Linked DNA regions of Homo sapiens: regions 1, 2, 3, 4, 6 and 7 are each linked to region 5. Evidence: promoter capture Hi-C in human tissues and cell types (Jung and others, 2019). All regions are on one chromosome and are shown on one strand. Each heading gives the region's core, a stretch centred on a gene start or on the middle of the fragment in contact. The rest is flanking DNA. Distances are from core to core; before and after follow the strand shown.

The links. The method cuts DNA at HindIII sites, captures the fragments that hold promoters and counts their contacts. A contact is called where the count stands out against the background at its distance.
Region 1: a contact is called between a fragment that was not itself captured here and the fragment with the promoter of SALL1 in region 5, in 5 of the 25 tissues and cell types used here (IMR-90 fibroblasts, heart left ventricle, hippocampus and 2 more).
Region 2: a fragment that was not itself captured here is called in contact with the fragment with the promoter of SALL1 in region 5 in 3 of the 25 tissues and cell types used here (H1 embryonic stem cells, mesendoderm cells and pancreas).
Region 3: a contact is called between a fragment that was not itself captured here and the fragment with the promoter of SALL1 in region 5, in 4 of the 25 tissues and cell types used here (H1 embryonic stem cells, dorsolateral prefrontal cortex, heart left ventricle and 1 more).
Region 4: a contact is called between a fragment that was not itself captured here and the fragment with the promoter of SALL1 in region 5, in 4 of the 25 tissues and cell types used here (dorsolateral prefrontal cortex, heart left ventricle, mesendoderm cells and 1 more).
Region 6: a contact is called between a fragment that was not itself captured here and the fragment with the promoter of SALL1 in region 5, in 6 of the 25 tissues and cell types used here (aorta, bladder, dorsolateral prefrontal cortex and 3 more).
Region 7: a fragment that was not itself captured here is called in contact with the fragment with the promoter of SALL1 in region 5 in 2 of the 25 tissues and cell types used here (dorsolateral prefrontal cortex and mesendoderm cells).

The regions. Positions count from the first base shown.
Region 1 is chr16:51,558,410-51,561,109 of GRCh38, reverse strand. No RefSeq gene overlaps it. Among named protein-coding and RNA genes, the nearest start is that of HNRNPA1L3, 86 kb to the left of the region's middle. The HindIII fragment of the contact is 4,980 bases long and covers 1-2,700 here.
Region 2 is chr16:51,491,157-51,493,856 of GRCh38, reverse strand. All of the region lies in intron 2 of LOC102723323 (a long non-coding RNA gene), which reads left to right. Among named protein-coding and RNA genes, the nearest start is that of HNRNPA1L3, 150 kb to the left of the region's middle. The HindIII fragment of the contact is 5,159 bases long and covers 1-2,700 here.
Region 3 is chr16:51,612,276-51,614,975 of GRCh38, reverse strand. No RefSeq gene overlaps it. Among named protein-coding and RNA genes, the nearest start is that of HNRNPA1L3, 32 kb to the left of the region's middle. The HindIII fragment of the contact is 3,771 bases long and covers 1-2,700 here.
Region 4 is chr16:51,631,593-51,634,292 of GRCh38, reverse strand. LOC107984892 (a long non-coding RNA gene) reads left to right here and starts at 180. Exons shown (of 3, transcript XR_001752181.1): 1 at 180-335. The HindIII fragment of the contact is 6,440 bases long and covers 1-2,700 here.
Region 5 is chr16:51,149,931-51,152,630 of GRCh38, reverse strand. It overlaps SALL1 (spalt like transcription factor 1), which reads left to right and starts at 1,361. Exons shown (of 3, transcript NM_002968.3): 1 at 1,361-1,465. The coding sequence starts at 1,390. RefSeq lists an enhancer at 1,664-2,164. The HindIII fragment of the contact is 9,229 bases long and covers 1-2,700 here.
Region 6 is chr16:51,575,833-51,578,532 of GRCh38, reverse strand. No RefSeq gene overlaps it. Among named protein-coding and RNA genes, the nearest start is that of HNRNPA1L3, 69 kb to the left of the region's middle. RefSeq lists an enhancer at 194-1,393. The HindIII fragment of the contact is 6,997 bases long and covers 1-2,700 here.
Region 7 is chr16:51,510,386-51,513,085 of GRCh38, reverse strand. The region is part of intron 1 of LOC102723323 (a long non-coding RNA gene); the gene reads left to right. Among named protein-coding and RNA genes, the nearest start is that of HNRNPA1L3, 130 kb to the left of the region's middle. The HindIII fragment of the contact is 4,324 bases long and covers 1-2,700 here.

The sequences.
Region 1 (2,700 bases), core at 94-2,593, 410 kb before region 5:
CAGGTCTTCCTGTCTCTCCATTTTATTAGGGTTTGACATCAGTGACTCCATTTTGATACTGATAACTTTTGCAATATATACAAAACACACATACTATATATAATATGGATATGTACACATATGGTTGTGTGTGTGTGTGTGTGTGTGTGTGTGTGTGTATATAATGTTTGGGCTCAGGACATACTATCCCAAATATGACTATAGGAGACCAGATATGCCACCCCAATATATATTTATTTTGCATATTTGGAGCTGGTTATTCTGAAAAACTTCAGACGCAAGAGTAGCTCTGAAAAGTTGTTTTTTTTGGTAAAAGAAATTTACATCTATAAGGAAAATATGCATTAGTATCTGTATCAGAAGGAGCAGCTCCATTACAGCTTTTATTACCTGAAAGACTTACCTGCATAACAAGACAAATTTTATTCACTATACTTTTCCTCCCCTTGCCCTTCCATAAACTTGTCTCTACCACCCCTCGGAAGCCAAACCCCTATTCCTTTCTGTAGCTCAGGATATTAAATAAGCTTCAATCATCTGGCCTCTCTTGGAGTCTCATATATTTGCGGGACTCCTGTGCTCACATATGTAATAAATATGGTTTTGCTCCTGTTGATCTGTCTTGTGTCCATTTAAGTTGTAGCTCAGCCAAGGAACCTAGAAAGGTAGAGGGAACCATTTTCCCTCCTCCACAATACATACATACATAGTAAATACATACCTACATACACTACTTACTCAAACTTAGAGAGAGAGAGAGAGAGAGAGAGATTTTAAGAAATCGGCTCATGTGACTGTAGGGGCTGGCAAGTCTGAAATCCACAGGGCAGACTAGCAGGTTAGAAACTCAGGTAAGAGTTGATGGTACAATTTTGAGTCTAAAATTCTCAGAGCAGCAGGCTGGAAACTCAGGCATGCTTTCACTGTTGCAATCTTAAATAGATTTAGTCCCCACTGGTCTGCCCTTATCTTTTCTCGCCTTCTTCAATCCATTCCTCACATGGCAGCCACGGTGAGTTTAAAATGCAAATAGGGTCATGTGACAATTCTTCTTAGAACACTTCAGTGAATCCCTTATTGATTGTAGAATAAATTACAAACTCTTAATGGCCTGAAAGGGAGGGCCTCAATTTGTGCAGAATAGTTCTGGTTTCAAAGTGTTATTTTGGTTTTCATAGCACCTTCTTCCCTCAGATGTGTCCCGGGAAGATGACAAACTATACGATCAGCCTCCCTAGGCCTGGAGTGGCCTGGTGCATGCAGAATCTCCAGCCAATCTCATGCCAGTGTCCCCTTCTACTCCTCACTCAGGCCACACTGACCTGTCAGTCCCTCCCTCCACCAGCCTCCCTCCACTCTTGAAGACTTTACCTTGGCCATTGCCTCTGCTGGGGACTGTCTTCCTTCCAAGCTTCCTATATTTGTTAATTTCAAATACTTCTTGGATCTCAGCACCATTGTTACCATTACCCTGACCCTTTTCTAGAGAGATCTCCCTGAGTGTATTAGAATTCTCAGAAGAAACATAACCAAAAGAAATACTGTGTATATACAGTCATGTGTCACTTAGTAATGGGGATACATTCTGAAAAATGTATTATTAGGTGATTTTGAGGCTGTGCAAACATCCTAGAGTGCACTCACCCACACTTAGATGGTGTCGCCCACGACACACCTAGGCTCTATGGTATGGCCTATTACTCCCAGGCTACGAACCTGTCACAGCATGGGACTGTACTGAATACTGTAGGCAGTTATAACACAATGGTAAGTGTTTGTGTGTCTAAACATATCTAAACATGGAAAATGTACAGTAAAGATAGAATCGTATAATCTTATGAGACCACCATTGTACATGCAATACATCATTAACCAAAACTTCATTAGGCAGCCTATGACTATCCACGGCTTACTCTATTATGGAGGCGAAGAAATCAGTTCCAAGATCTGTAGTCAGAAAACCGGAGACTCAAGAGAGCTGATATGTAGCTAAACTCTGAAAGCTGACAAGCTTGAGATTCAAGAAGGGCCAAAATTTCAGTCTGAGTCTGAAAGCTGGAAAAGACGCAAGTTCCAGCTCAAGCAGTCAGGCAGAAGGGGTACCCTCTTACTCAACTTTTTTGTTCTATTCAGATTTTCAATTGTCTGGATGAGATGTGCCCACAATGGGGAGGGCAACCTGCTTTACTCAGTCTACCGATTCAAATGTCAGTCTCATCCAGAAACACTCTCACAGACACACACAATAATGTTTGGCCAAATGTCTGGGCACCCCATGGCTCAGTCAAATTGAAATATAAAAATTAACCATCACGCTCAGCTTTTCAATCATGTTTGCATAAGCCGATAGCAGAAAGAAGATGTGCATATGAAGTCAAGTTGCTGGCCTGAGATATCAGAAGGCATGCAATTGGAAAAACTCAGAAATAAGCCTATACGGCACAACATTGTGCGTAAAATGAAAATTGAAAGCTCTTGACTCAGACACACAGGCTGGTTTCTTTTCTTCCTTGTAGTCATTGGATAGTCTCTGCTGAACTTTAGAGTGTTGGGTGATGACCCAGGGAAATGAGGGATACATGGAGTTCATTTTTGACCATCTTCTTCCACACACTTCTATGCGTGGCTTGTTTCTGCATGATTGATTTACTGACTGGGAGGTGTCTGCAGGTGTGATGTTTCTGTCTCTTTCCTGCCAGC
Region 2 (2,700 bases), core at 189-2,688, 340 kb before region 5:
TCGGCTTCTGGGCAGCCCTTCTACTGATCAGAGTCTTTCTTCTTTCCTCACGCCAGCTACCCAAACCAAGGAGAATACCAACGTGAATTGTCTTTCCACCTGTTGTGTGGGGCCAGCAATTATTCTTTTAGCTTGACGCGTTAACCCACCTGCTCCCTGTGGCCCTGGGATGCTCTGCCATCCCCCGTGGCTGCCAGTTCACTTAGGGTAGACTTATGGCAGAGGGATGTCAATTTTGCTTGAACTGCTCAATCACTGCTGACATTTCGTTAACCACCCTATGAACTTCTCAAGCCTGAAGTAGCAGCAACTTGTGCCCTTGAAAACTGAACAGAAAACAACTGTATTGATTTTCTACTATCAACAAGAAAAAGACAATTTCTCTTTGCTGAGAATGTTCATAATGCATTTTACACCACTTATTCTCGGCAGTCCACCTCTTCCTGATATATTGTTGGGCCTCTTTAAACCCCTGCTGCTTTAGACTCTGCTAGAATTAACCCTGAAATGCCAGCACCATCTCAAGCCCTTCCAGTTCCCGGATAGAAATGTTCATCAGTGCTGAATTGACAGCCTACTTAGGCAAGGGAGCTGTGATCATTTAGAAATTACAAAGGAACTCAGGCCTGGGTGAAGGGTTTGGGGTTGGGACACTAGGAATCTCTTTTAGTAAAATTCTCTTTTAAAAGAACATATCTCTTTGGTTTGTTAAAAGCACTAATGATGTCTATATGATATTTTGGAGATATATCAGCATATACACTGACCAAACTGATTGAATAGGAAGTAATTTTCAGTAATTTTTACCACTCATGCAACCATTCTTGCTAACTCAAGACCCAAGATTTAACTTGTGTATGATTATTCCAAATTACCAGGCCTTTCTTTTCTTTTTCAACCTGCATTAAAAAAAAAAAAAAAAAAAAAAAAAAACTATCAGGCATGCCCTAATAGTTCCATTTTTTTTGAAATTTCCAACATACCAAAAAGAGACTCCAAGGAACTGAAAGAGATTCAAGAAGCTTGAAAAAGCAAGCCTGACCCTCTGGGACAACTGTAGTGTCAAAAGCAGTCAATATTTATGCCTAGCAACCTTGACAATATCCTTTTAATTAAAATCAATGGAGAAATAAAACATGCATTAGAATGCACGTGGGATCACTCACCTCACGAGACAGAGAAGGAAGACTCTGATATTATGCACGATGTGATTATGACAAGACGCTGGATCTTCTGTATGAGACATGGGTTCTGGTATTTGCAATTAGATCTCTTCTTTTGACGGTTGTTTTCATTTAGTGTTATTATTTTCGTTTTCAGTTTTTTGTTGGTTTCTCATTTGGTGCAACTTTCTTGAGACACATGTTAAAAAACATACACAGAACAATCTTAGCTGGGTGTGGTGGCTCACTCCTGCAATCCCAGGACTTTGGAAGGCCAAGGAGGGAAGGTTTCTTGAGCCCAGGAGTTCGAGACCAGCCTGGCCCACATGGCGAAACCTCTACTAAAAATGCAAAAATTAGGCGGGTGTGATGGTGGGCACCTGTAATCCTGGCTACTCAGGAGGCTGAGGCAGGAGAATTGCTTGAACCCGGGAAGCAGAGGTTGCAGTGAGCTGAGATCATGCCACTGCACTCCAGCCTGGGTGATAGAGCAAGACTCTGTCTCAAAAAAAGAAAAGAAAAAAGAAAGAGATTTTAAAAATTTCCTGGGTGTGATGGCACATGCCTGTAGTCCCAGCTACTTGGTAGGCTGAGGTAGGATCACCTGAGCATGTTGAGGCTGCAGGGAGCTATGATTGTGCCAGTTTGGGTGACAGGGCAAGACCCTGTCTCAAAAAAAAAAATTAAAGTAGAAACTTCTTGTAAAGTCAGATAATATGTTTATCAGGTTCAAACTATAACCTCGATTTGATGTGGCAATTGAAAAAAACAGGGAAGGAGACCACAGAGTTTAGGAGAATGGTGTTCTTTTGGTAGCTCTGCCTCCAACTAGCCATATGACCTTGAGGGGTGTGTGGGGGCATCATAGGCAACATCTTTGAGTCTCAGCTGCCCCTTCTCTAAAATGAAATGGTTAGTCTCAATTCTATGAGTTTCTTTTGGCTCCCTGTAAACATTCTATTAGACCAGTGATTTTTAAAATAATAGCAACTATTGTTCATTGAACACTCCCCATGTATAATGCAAGAATTCTCTCAGTCAATGAGATAGCAGGTCCCATAATTGTTTCCATTTTATGGATGTGGAAACTGAAGCTGAAGAGATGGAGCCATTCTCTCATGTACCACCAGCTGGCTGAAGTGTGAATGTATTCAAAGGCTATGCGCATCACCATTGTCTCACACCACCTCCCCGGAGTCTATGGAAGGTAGAAGGGCCTTAGGTCCGAAAGATGCCCCTAGTTTCCCTCTGTAGACTTTGAAGGGTCTTCTGACTGTGCCTTCCAGCTAGCAGATTTCTCTAGAGCTCACTTGGCTTGGGGACGCTTCACTTAACCTCAGGCCACTTCCACTGCTGCAGAGTTCACCTAACCTGAACCTAGACAACTTTTCTATACATCCAGATTTTGTTTCAAAGGCTCTCATGCAGGCAGGCTTAACAATGACAAGTTAAGTTTCCCAAGAATAGAAGGCAATTTAACACTGTCCTCTCTGGCAGGGCCAGGCAGATTAACCATCAGATATCAGCACTTTATAAA
Region 3 (2,700 bases), core at 165-2,664, 460 kb before region 5:
TATTTAGAGAGAATCGCAAATGATCATTAGTAAACATGCAGGATTAACAACTACTCAATAATGATGTTTCTTTACTTACATTTTCATTTTTAATAATATCTTGATCCTCCTGGTCTTCTTGCTATGTTTTGGCCTGTTTATTAAAACGTTACCTATAAAATGCTTAAGTCCCAAAGAATTTCAGCAGGTATTATATCAAGACCCTTAATTAATTTTTTTTTTCCAGATCTGAACACTGAGGTTCCTAGGTGACAGATAATGCTCCTGGCCAACATAGGATCTCATTTGAAGATGACAGAGGAACTATTCGTGGATAGGCCATTCCTTTCTGCTGTAAGAATCAGTGAGCAAAGGAAAGAGATTCATGTGCCATTTCATTGGCTTAAGGTACTTTTCTGATATAACAGAATTTTGGGGCCAAATGCCTGCTCAGCATTCATTTTCATGGCTGTGTTTCCTAACAACTATCTACTACCTTTTACTGATTCCAGTCAAATAAGGGACATAAATAATTTTTTAAAAATAAAAAGAAAGGAACAAAAATCTTGACATTTTGACCAAGATTCTGGTTGAATCTTGTAAGAAAAATGGCCATGGATGATTTTTAAGTAAACATATTTTCAAGGCTTTGTTTGCTTCTAAATCAAGTTTTGTAAGAATGCAATAGCAATGCGTGATTACAAAGCGGCTAGTTAGTTTTCTCTTTGTCAGTCACTAGAAGACAAAAATTAAAGCTCACGAAATTTTGCATCTTATCAAATTTGCTCGTTTAAATTAATAAGAAATACCTATGTAATATTTATACTAGAGGTTGCTTAAGCTTTCAAGACACCTTTAAAATGTGATAATTTGGAAGTTGGTTGATTAATGTGCTCATTTGACAGCTTCAGTTTTTTTTAAAGAAATTTAAGAAATTAGATTTGCTCTTATATTCAGATATATTAATACTTTCAAGCAGGGCTCTGGGGGGTGCCTTATTTAAGCACACTCCCAAAAAATGCAACAAACTTAAAATGACACTACAGGTTAGTGCAAATTAGGCGGTATTATCAAACCCCGTTCTCTATAATCTTCTTATGGTGTGTAAAAAGATCCACATCCCTTCAAAACTTAGATCTCCAAACTTCATATGACTAAAGCAAAACATCCAAAAATATGTTTATATAAAAAAGAGATCAACAGAAAGGAATTTACACTGGTAAATTATCTTTTTGGTGGTTGTTTTTGTTTGCTTGTGAAAAAATGAAAACTCAGTATTGGTTGCAGTTAAGCTCACTTCAGGATTATATGTCCCAGAAGAATTTTGAAGATTAACTTTTTTTTTAAAAAAAAAGATCTTTTACAGTCCTTTCAAAATTGCCTGGGAAAAGAAAATAAATGCAGGTGATGTGCCGATCCAATTTCCCCACTCCATTGAGAACTTTTGAAAATTATACTATTCGAAAACAGTTTTCCATAAAAAGAATTTTGAACAAATTTGAACATTCAATCACATATGAAAACAAGAGGCCACGTGGTGCTAGATTGGAATCCCTCTTCATCGGAATTTGTTTGAAGTACTTGGGGGAAAAATAAGGGAAAGAAACTACATTTGGTTTAGAACTGCCAGCACTAGCAGGCACTTCTCACTCCATGTGGGTGATTCTTCCACCCTCACAGTGCGCCCCCAGCAGAGTATCAAAACCATGAGAAGGAGCAGCTTTGAAGATGGAAGGCCTGGATTACAAGATCAGCTGATGACTGACAAGCTGGTCTCCTTGGGCAGGATAATGAAGCTTCAGTTTTTCCACCTATAAAGTGGAGATGATGATCATGGTGATTACCCCCACAGAGTGGTTTTAAGGCTACATTCAGATAATTCATGGAGAACATTTAGCAGAATGTCTGGCGCATGGGAAGAACTCAATAAATGCTATTAACTATTACAGAGGGAACACTGCGAACAAATTGAATCATGTTACAGGCTGAGGAGAGAAGCCCGAGCTAGCAAAAATGATTGGCAATGTATCTTGAGAAGCACAGGAACACTTTGCCTTCAGAGAGTTTTCAGCTGAAAAGTTATAGGTAGCTATTTCACACCAGGCAGGGGAAAAGGGAGCTGAACAAAAAAGTCAGGGTGTTAAGAGAAGAGGTGGTCTGCAGAAAATAGAAATAAGAGTAGAAGCTAAGAGGCAGCATAGAAGAGTAGAAATTCTTTGGAATTAGAAAGTTCGAGGCCCATTTACCTCTTCTGTCCATTATTAGTTGCATGGCCCTGGTCATGTGATCTGTTGTTTCCTATGCTTAGTTCCTCATTCATACAACTTGTTATTAAAGGTTACTTTGAAGGCTTGCCCTGATGTCCTAATGAAAAGGCACATAATGTGTCTAAACGTAGCACCTGAAAGTACTCTACAGACAGTAGCTCTTACTGTGAGGTGTGATACTCAGGTACAAGAGTGTCCACAATGATGGAACAGGATGGAAAAAATGGTTCAATGGCTCAGGGAATGTATTGACAAAATAAATAAATGTGAACACATGACACAGCACCATTGCCAAATTAGGAAGTAGGAGAGATGGAAACTGTTTAAAACTTTGTGAGAATGGCCAGGTGTGGTGACTCATGTCTGTAACCCTAGCACTTTAGGAGGCTGAGGCAGGAGGATTGCTTGAGCCAAGGAGTTTGAGGCTGCAGTCAGCTATGATCATGCCACTGTA
Region 4 (2,700 bases), core at 19-2,518, 480 kb before region 5:
CTCAATTCATAGTGCCCTAAGTGGCTCAGTAATTTCTTCATAGTGCTCCTAGTTCAAAAGAATTACCCATCAGTTCCCTTTAGTAAGTAGTCAGGGCCAAACAACTCAACAAGTATGAACGTCCAAAAAACTTAATGGGCATTTTTTAAAATTACACATTTGTAAGAAAAAAATCTGTTTATTTTATTCTCCAATATTCAGAATTACTAATGAGATGTCTGCAATGTGTCAAGTCTTAACATCAGATTGGACACCACCACCATTTCCTGTTCCACACTGATCTTCACATGGTTCTTGCTTTTTAACACAACCTCTGAAAACCGAGCCTCACAAAGGTAAACTATCTTATTTTATTTATTTATTTATTTATTTATTTGAGATGGAGTCTCGCTCTGTCTCCCAGGCTGGAGTGCAGTGGCGTGATCTCAGCTCACGGCAACCTCTACCTCCCAGGTTCAAGCAATTCTCTGCCTCAGCCTTCTGAGTAGCTGAGATTACAGGCTACTACCACCATATCTGGCTAATTTTTGTATTTTTAGTAGAGACGGGGTTTCACCATGTTGGCCAGGCTAGTCTTGAACTCCTGACGTCGTGATCCACCCACCTCAGCCTCCCAAAGTGCTGGGATTACAGGCTTAAGCCACCGCACCTGGCCTAAAGATAGGCTATCATCCAGAAAAATATACTGTGATCTAATGTTAAAAATAAGTTAAAACTACCTCAAGCTAGTAGTTTGCACAGTGTCTGACAAATGTTACTGTGTTTTCCTCAAAAATTTAAAACATCAGACAGTCCTCGTGTGAATTCACTGCAGCATACTGGGTGCCTTGGTGCACAGTTTGGAAATTGAGGCACAAGAATTAACGTTTCTTGATGTCATGAAATATACCATGTCCAGGCCAGGCGCAGTGGCTCATACCTGTAATCCCAGCACTCTGGGAGGCCGAGGCGGGTGGATCACGAGGTCAGGAGATCGAGACCATCCTGGCTAACACGATGAAACCCCGTCTCTACTAAAAATACAAAAAGTTAGCTGGGCGTGGTGGTGGGCACTTGTAGTCCCAGCTGCTCCAGAGGCTGAGGCAGGAGAATGGGGCGAACCTGGGAGGCGGAGCTTGCAGTGAGCCGAGATCATGCCACTGCACTCCAGCCTGGGTGACAGAGCAAGGCTCTGTCTCAAAAAAAAAAAAAAAGAAAAGAAAAAAAGAAATATACCATGTCCATATCCATATTTTCTGTACATTAGCCTAGCATGGGACTAATGTACTCAATAAACATTGTTTAAAGAACGTTGCTTTTGGTTAACACTTTTCTAGTTTAGATTACTTTAATCACAGTACCACAATTTGATAACATATATCCAATGTATATATAGTCACTACCAATGCAGAGGAATATATTTTCTTACATACACTCAAAGAGCTTAGGTGGAGGAAATTGATGGAGTCATCTCTATTTGAAATGTCTTATAGATATTTCTCTGTGAAGAAAGCTTTTATCTCTAGGATTCCTAGATTTTCTCTAAACTTAGGAAAATGCTTAAAAAGTTCCATTACTTGCTTGCTCCCTGATATGGTTTAGCTCTGTGCCCCCACTCAAATCTCATGTCAAGTTGTAATTCTTGCCTGTCAGAGGAGGGGCTTGGTGGGAGGTGATTGGATCATGGGGGCGGATTTCCCCCTTGCTGTTCTTGTGATAGTAAGTGATTCTCATGAGATCCTATGGTTTAAAAGTGTGTCACTTCCCCCTTTGCTCTCTCTCTCTCTCTCTCTCTTGCTCTTCCATGGAAAGACGTGCCTTGCTTCCTCTTTGCCTTCTGCCATGATTATACATATCCTGAGGCCTCCCCAGCCTTGCAGAACTGTGGGTCAATTAAACCTCTTTTCTTCATAAATTTCCTGGTCTCAGGTAGTTCTTTATAGCAGTGTGATAATGGACTAATACACTCCCTAAGACATTACAAACATACACAGAAGTAAGTGTATGATCCAAAAATTGCTTGGACCACTTGATTTTATCCAAAGGTGGATGAAGGTGCATATGTCCAGAACCAGAGGACTTCTTCCTTGCCTTTAACTTCCCTCTAAGCACAAAGGCCTTGGCCTGTGGCTCCCACATGGATACCGTGTAGTTGAGTGAACCTGAAGAATCATATCCCACACAATGCAGCCTTGGCTAAAAATGAATACCCAGTGGTGTACATATACCCAATGATACAGAAACATAATGGAACAGTATTCAGTCTTAAAAAAGGATACAGTCCTCATCCAGCTACAACATGAATGAATCTTGAAAACATGATGCTAAGTGAAAGAAGCCAGCACAAAAGGCCACATGTATGATCCTACTGGTCTGATGCATCTAGAACAGGCAAATTCATAGAGATGGAAAGCAGAATGGAAGTTATCAGGGGCCGAGGGCAAGTGCATAGAGAGTTATTGTTTAATGGGTGCAGAATTTCTGTTAGGGATGATAATAAAGTTCTGGAAATGGATAATGGTGATGACTGCACAACTTTGTAAATGTACTTACTGCCACTGAATTTTACACTTAAAAATGCTTAAAATAGTAAACTTTATATTACGTGTATTGTACCATTTTACCATGCACAGACACAAAATTGCCCAGCCTGACGAATGAGATTTGCTTAAAAAGATGTCACCAATAAATAAAGTTTAGAAAATAAGACTGCCACAGCTG
Region 5 (2,700 bases), core at 112-2,611:
ACTGGCCCAGTCCAGTGCCGGGTCCGCCCGGGCTGTGTCTCCCTAGGCCGGTGCTCGCTGCTGCGCTCAGTGTGAGCCGCAGCCCCTCCCCTCCCCCCGGCCGGAGCTGAACTCGGAGCCCAGGCCGGTCCCCGCTCTCCGCCCGCCCGGGGCTCTGCGGCGCCACCGCTGCCGCCGCCTCCCCGCGGAGTGACGCGCCCTGCAGCCAACCGGGGCAGCCGGGGGGGAGGTCCGGGAGGGGTCCTGGGCGGAGCCGGGCCGCCCCCTTATCCCACGGGCTCGGGGCTGCTTCTCCCGAAAACTTCAGCCCTAATTGTCCTGGGAATGTCCGAGGTAGAGAAAGGGAGCGAGGGAGCAAGCAAGAAGCTGGAGGATCAGTGCCCCTGGCGGGGAGGGGATGGGGTGGCGGGAGAACTGCCCCTCCCCCCAGCCACAAACCCATCAGGTTCCCAAACCTTTCCTGGATCCTCTTCTCCGCGCCCCCGCGAGCCCGGGATCCAGGGGATGGAGAACTCGGGGCGGAGGAGCGCCGAGCCAGGCGGGAGGGAGGCCGAGCCGTGGGCGGGAGGCGGACCGGCGTGGGGCTGGCTCTTCCCCACTCGCTTATTTTTTTTTTTAATGGGGGTGGGGGTGGGCTGCTTTCTGGTAGCTCTTAAAGAAACGAAGAAACACTCACGAAACGGGACGCCCTCCCCCCTGATCCCGCCGCGGGACTCCCTCCCCCCGCGGGCCGGCGCGCCTCGCCCCCGAGTTGGGAAGTTCGCAGCGCGCCGGCAGCCCGGGTCCCCAGCCCTCGCCGCCCGGCCCCACCCCCCACCCGGGGCGGCTCAATTCCGGGGAGGGCATGCTAATTTGGGTCGGCCCAGCCCGGGATTGTGGGGGGGGGCGAAGGAGGGAGGGAAGAGGGAGGGGAGAGGGAGAGAGCGGGGGGCGCCTGCCGGGGCGCCGGGCCCGCAGTGGAGAGGAGGCCGGCCCCCGGCGGCCGGGCCGCGGAGTCCCGGGCGGTCGCAAAGAGGGTTAACCCAGTGTCGGGCGGCGCGGCGCGCAGAGCCAGCCCCGCGGCCGGCTTATTGGGCCAGCGCGCGGAGAGACAGGGGTCTGCAGCAAATCACGAACTAATTGATTAAGGCGAGCGGGTTTGAATAGCGCTGGCCCGGTGCCAATCGCCTTTCAAAGAGCCCCTCTATGATTAATCGCAATGCATTATTGATAATCATAATTATAGCAGGACACATGCGCGCTGCGCCCGGGGCCGGGGAGCCGGGGAGGGGGCGGGCGGGCCGGCGGGCGGGGGGAGCCGCCGCCGCCGCCGCCGCTCGATTTCCGTAATTTTGAGAAGATTTTTTTTTAGTAATTTTTTATTCTGCCCCAGCTGATGTTTGAGCCAGCATGTCGCGGAGGAAGCAAGCGAAGCCTCAACATTTCCAATCCGACCCCGAAGTGGCCTCGCTCCCCCGGCGAGATGGTGAGTGCTCCGGCCCGCGCCGTGGACACACACACACGCACTCACACTCACGCACACTCGGACCCACTCACACGCGGCTGGCCCCCGCGCCCCCTACCTCACCGCCGCCGCGGCCCCGATTGCTTCTTCCACTCGGCGTAATTTTTTTTTTCTTTTTAATTTTCAATGTGCCTTTGCTGGGCTTTCCCCCGCTGCCCCGGGGAAAGCGAGCACATCTCCCGGCAGGATCTTTCCGGAGTTGTTGGGTCCTCCCGGGGGAAGGAGGGCGGGCATGCCGGCCTGGCTTCTCCGTCCCTGCTTTTCCGGGGATCCCAGCCGCGGCCAAGACCCGGGAGCCCCATGAGGCGTGGGTGCGGGTGGAGGTCGCCCCGGCCTGACCGCACGGGGCCCCTAGCGCTCCCGGCGCCGGCCCCAGGGCACCCGGCCCGGCCTCCGCCGCCCGGCCTTGCTGCCAGCGGTAAGGAAGTTTACTTCGGGCGCTGGGCTGAACTCCGAGCGTGGGGGAGTTCGCTGCGCCCCCCTGCCCCCACGCACACTCCCCCTCGGCCTGCGAGGCAGAACCGGGTGTCTTTGGAGGTTCAGAGCTGCAAGAAGATGGGGACTGGTGTCGGGGCGCCAGCGCCTGACCCGCTGGGGTTGCGGCCGGGGTGGAGAGTGCTGCTGGCCGCCAGTTGTTCCGGAGACGGTGCAAACGGACGGGGAAAGTGTCGGGGTCTGGCTCGCAAAATTTATCTCCGCATCTCTTCCCACAACACTTGCACCCTCTGCCCCCCAAAATCTTTCTGGTCGGTATGCGCCCTCTGCGGATCGTGGTGCTCCCTACTTCCAGGGGGGTCAGGGAAGAAGTCATAGAATAGTTTTCCAGGTTTGCGGGTGGCCAGCCAGAGTGGAATCCCCCCTGAAACAGGGGCACTTGTTTTCTCCGATGGAGGCGACAACTGTGGGTCCCGAAGGGGCTGAACAAGTCCAGAACAAAGTTTGTGTGTGGGGGCTATGGCAGAGAGTGGAAGAGATCCGGGCAGGGAGTTGGGGTACAAAGGGAGGACACCTGGAATCCCTCCTTGCTCCTAAAGGTGTTTCACGGTACCGGCCTCAAAGCTCCCAGGCCTAGCGCCCGAGGCGGTGTAGCGGCGCCCGGACTCGGGTCCCCGGGTCGTCCCGGCACGATGCTGGCCTCTCGGCTGTGGGAGGACGCACAAGGAGCAATCTCGGCGGGGTCTCAGCGGCTCCGGATG
Region 6 (2,700 bases), core at 163-2,662, 430 kb before region 5:
AGTGAAAAGAGGAAACTTCTATTGCTAAACCCAGCCTCTTAACCATCACACCATCTTGCATCCATGTGAATTTAGTAGCATTCAAGCAGTATTTAAAACAATGTATGAGTTTAATTGTAGGAAAGAATGAGATTCAAGGTTCTCTTTTTTTCTGTCTAAAATTATGCATGCATTTCAGGAAAGGGTTGTTTGTTGTATTTTTTTTTGGATGCAGTGTTTGGCTCTCATGGGAAAATGGCATCTTCTTAATAAAGGGACAGATAAGAGAATAATCTGTTAAATGTAATCATAGAAAGACATTTTATGATTGTGCCTGTTATGATTTGGCTTCCCATGCATTGTTGTCATTCAATTCCATAAACATTCCTTTGTTCAGGAGATGACAGCACCTACTCTAAAGGTATTGTTAATATGCTGAGTAAAAACACACTTACCCTTTGCAAGCTATGGTTTTGCTTTGAAATCTCTGTAATTAACACATTCACATTTCAGGCACCGGGTATTATTGAGTTCAAAGAAACAAAGATGTATTTCATTTTTTTTTCTACAGATGATTCATCAGTTCCACTCCTTCCACCTACAGATGTCTAAACTTCAGTTTTCTGTGAAGCTACAAAGCATGAACTGGCATCTACACATTGAGTCAGAGGACGCCAAGTGTTAAACTGTAATACCGCCAACAGTTCGGTGTCAAGCCTCTTAACCTACTTTCCGGTGTAGGCGTCATTAACAATGCTCTTTGCCCTTGGGCACTAAAAGGAAAAGACTCTGGTAACCCTACACCAGTGGTTCCACTTAAGTAACTACCTGATGCATAGTTATCTTTCCAGGCTATCCGGTGAAGGGAGTGGAAACATTTGCTTCTGGGTCCCAGCCTGGCAAGCTGGTTAACGCTTGTCAAAGAAACAGCTCACTGTTTCCGATGCTCAGTCTCTGACCCGTACTTGAATTTTCACACCCATGATAACCAGATAATACCCTGGTTTGTGTTTGCTGGGCCACAAGACAGCACAAACATCATTGTGTCCACTTAAAACACACACACACGAAATAATGCATTTAAGAGGAAACACTGACATGCCTTGGCTAACTTTCTAGATGCATCCGTACTAATTTGAAATATCACCCCTCGCAATCTCCAGGTGATGAGTTTAGAAACTCTGTCATTTATGTATTCTTTATTTGTTCAAGTAAATATATTAAGCATTCAAATATTCACTACGGATCTGCTTAAAGAGCTACTGTATACTTTTTTTTTCAATGTATTAAGACTGCCCCTGGCTATCAACTTGAGTCTTGACCAGTTGGGCTAGCTAATTAGGTTGAATATTCCAGATAAATGAAACTCCCTGCAGAGAGAGATAATTCAAGCCATTCCCTATTTTATAACGAACATTGTAAAAAGTGATTTCTTCATTAGGAGAAGACGGGGCTGCTGCAAGGCGGTGGAAATCTGCAGGAAGCTCTCCTCCAATTTTGCAAAGGGAATATTTTCAACAGGCATATCCTCAACATTTAAAAATGTCCCTTGGGGACTAAGTAGGCCAACTTTTGGAAGCCGGCAATTTTTCAACCCCAGATCAAAAGTGACATTTTACAAGAGGCACAAAAAGAGAAAAAAGGAAAAGAAAGTCTCATCTGCTTGTGTATAAATGAGTACTGTGTATAATCGCATGCTCGTATATAACTCTGACCTGAGCTCTCAGCCAGGAAATATCTGCGGCCACCATTAAACAGGATATGGCCCATCTTGCCCATGGCTCTGCTGGTTCTGAGCAGCACACAGTGCATTTTTGTCTGAGAGTGAAAACAGGAAAGTTCACCTTTATCTGCTGGCTTTGAGTTGACTTTGGACACCTGGTCACACTAGGCTGACAACCTTCTGATGTGTGATATTCTTAGAACTTTTCACAGAACCGGATGCACTGAGCATCTCTGCTTCTGCCAGACCTCCATGTATTTTGCTGAAGACAACAATGCTGCACCCTAGCCTTATATACCCCTCTGGGGACATGGTGGGGTGTAGTGATCTACTCCAAGCAACCAGGTATATCCCAAGAGGCCCTTGTCCACATTTCCAAAGCTTCAAGTTACTTCTCCACCTCGCTCGATAAAAGAACAGTTTCCAGTTCAATCCATAGGTCTAGGGTAATCAATGTCTCATTCTGAGGGGCAACATGACAATCTTTCTGTTATCCATTTTAAGTAAGCCTTTCTTTATGCCCACCCTACATTGCTTGCAGTTAATGTCTCATTAAGCATAGAGCCAGGGAAGCTGATTGCCCACTGACTATCTTCTGCCACAATAGGAAAGCATGCAGAATCGGAGCACAGATTGCCTTCAGCAAGTTACAGCCATCTTCAAGCCTTAGTGTCTACTGCATCAGTCCTGATTTCCTTGCCTAAATTTGAAGAATCTCTGTCATCTTGTCTCAAGATATTTAAGCCATGCTATACAGCAAGTGATCACCTACATTAAAACCATGGTTGCTCTCCCGGCTTTTCTTTTCTTCTTCTACTCTTCTTTTTCTTCTTCTTTTTTTCTTTTTCTTTTTTTTTTTTTTTTTAGAGAGAGGCAAGGTTTCACTCTGTCACCCAAGCTAGAGTACAGTAGAGTGCAGTGGTGTAACCATAGTTCACTGCAACCTTGAACTCCTGGGCTCAAGCAATCCTCCAGCCTCAGCCTCCCAAGAACCTGAG
Region 7 (2,700 bases), core at 190-2,689, 360 kb before region 5:
CAAGGGAACTGAAAGAAGTATTTAAACAAAAACCTTGTACACAAATATTTATAGAAGAACTATTCAGGAGTGCCAAAATGTGGAAACCACCCAAATGTCCATCAACTAATGAATAGATAAATAAAATGTGCCCGGGCACTGTGGCTCGCACCTAAAATCCTCACACTTTGGAGGCTGAGGAAGGCAGATCACTTGAGGTCAGGAGTTCAAGATCAGCCTGGTCAACATGGTGAAACCCTATCTCTACTAAAAATACAAAAATAGCCGGGTGTGGTGGTGCACACCTGTAATTCCAGCTACTCAGGAGGCTGAGGCATGAGAATCACTTGAACCCAGGAGGTGGAAGCTGCAGTGAGCTGAGATCGCACCACTGCACTCCAGCCTGGGAGACAGAGTGAGACTGTCTCAAAAAAAAAAAAAAAAAAGTGGTATATGCATGCAATGAAATACTATTCAGTCTTAAAAAGAAATGAGTACATATGCAAATCCATAGGGACAGAAAGCAGATGAGTGGTTGCCAGGGGCTGAGGGGAGGAGAGAATGGGAGTGAAAACTAATGGATACAGGGTTTCCTTTTAGGGTGAAGAAAAAGTACCGAAATTAGATAGTGGTGCTGGTTGCACAACATTGTGAATGTACCTAATACTAGTCAATTGCACACTTTAAAATTGTTAAAATGGTATTTTATCTTATGTATATTTTATCACAATTTGTATTGCTTTTTTTAAAAGTTTTTGTTTTAGATTCAGGGAGCACCTGTGCAAGTTTGTTACATGGGTATGTTGTGTGTCGCTGAAGTTTGGGTTTCTAATGATCCTGTTGCCCAAGCAGCAAACCTAGTTCCAGATGTGTAGTTTTTAACCCTTTTTCCCCTCCTCCCCTTCCCCCTTTTCGAATCCCTAGTATCAGCCGGGCGCAGTGGCTCATGCCTGTAATCCCAGCCCTTTGGGAGGCTGAGGTGGTGGATCACGAGGTCAGGAGATCGAGACCATCCTGGCTAACATGGTGAAACCCTGTCTCTACTAAAAATACAAAAAATTAGCCAGGTGTGGTGGCACACGCCTGTAGTCCCAGCTACTTGGGAGGCTGAGGCAGGAGAATCACTTGAACCCAGGAGGTGGAGGTTGCAGTGAGCCGAGATTGTGCCACTGCCCTCCAGCCTGGGCAACAGAGCCAGACTCCATCTCAAAAAAAAAAAAAAAAAAACAGAAAGAAGAAAAGAATCCCTTGTATCTGTTGTCCTAACTTGGTGTCCATTTGTACCCAGTGTTTAGCCCCTACTTACAAGTGCAAACATGTGGTATTTGGTTTTCTGTTTCTGCATTAATTTGCTTAGGATAACAGCCTCTAGCTGCATCCATGTTGCTGCAAAGGATGTTATTTCATTCCTTTTTATGGCTGCATAGTATTCCATGGTGTATATGTGTCACATTTTCTTTATCCAATCCACCATTGATGAGCACCTAGGTTGATTCCATTTGTTTGCTATTATGTGACAACTTTTAGAAAGGGCTGGCACTTTGCTGCCACAATGCAAGGATGCCTGTGTTGGGACACATGCTCCAGCATCCCACACTGATCAGGCCAAATTTAGACCTTACCTGGCACATCCTTGCTCAGCTCTTGCCTCTCCCCTATCTGGTGTTCTTCTCTCCCTCTCAGGTTTCTCCTAAGAGCAGTCCCTCCCTCAATTAAAAAAGGACTTTTTAATTCTTCTCTCAGTCTCCACTTTTATGGAATGTGACCCAAAACCGTAAGTGAACCAGTGGATAAAATAAATGTGCAAATAATTTTTTTATTTTTTATTTCTTTATTTTTCTTTATTTAGTTTAGAAATGGGGTCCCACTGTGTCACCCAGGTTGGTGTGCATTGGCATAATCATAGGTCACTGCAGCTTCCAACCTCTCACCTCCAGCAAACTTCTTGCATCAGCCTCCCAGTAGGTAGGACTACAGGCATGCACCAACTCACCTGGATGATTTTTTTTTTAAGTTTTATAGAGATAGGGTCTTGCTATGTTGCCCAGGCTGATCTTGAACTTCTTGGTCTCAAGCAATCGTCCCACTTCAGTTTCCAAAATGCTGGGATTACAGGCACCAGCCACTGCATCCAGCCTACATAATTTTTGTAAATGCTCAAGCCCTCTAAGCTTGGAGCTGGGATTCAAACCCAGATGAGGTTGACTCCAAAGTCCACTCTCCAACTACTAGGGTGCCTTCCCTAACGAGTTCACTGAGGAAAATACGGCTTTGTGTGGACAAGACTGCGGAGCTGATGATGTTCCTTTAGGGTCCACACTTCTGCCCCTTTTCCTGCAGATATTCTTCGAATATCTGCACCTCAGACTAAATGGAAAGCCTATCTCAGTGGCTTTTTTCTCTGCAACCTCAAGCCCTGTATAACAATTATAACATACAAACACACACACACACACACACACACACACAAAATGAAAACAGCCCATCCCCCAGCCTTTCCATGTAACAGAGAAGTTACTGTATCTAGAAACCCAGCTGTCCAAACTGAGATCGCCAGTCTCCAAGCATATAGAAAGATTGGATTAACTCATTTGTCCTTGTGAAGACATTAATATTGTTCCATCACTGAGCAGCTGAAACCCCTGATAAATCTCTATTTCAAGGCAAATTTGTAAATGCCTAAGTGTAGTCATAATAATAGTGTTGTAAGTCTTATTGAAC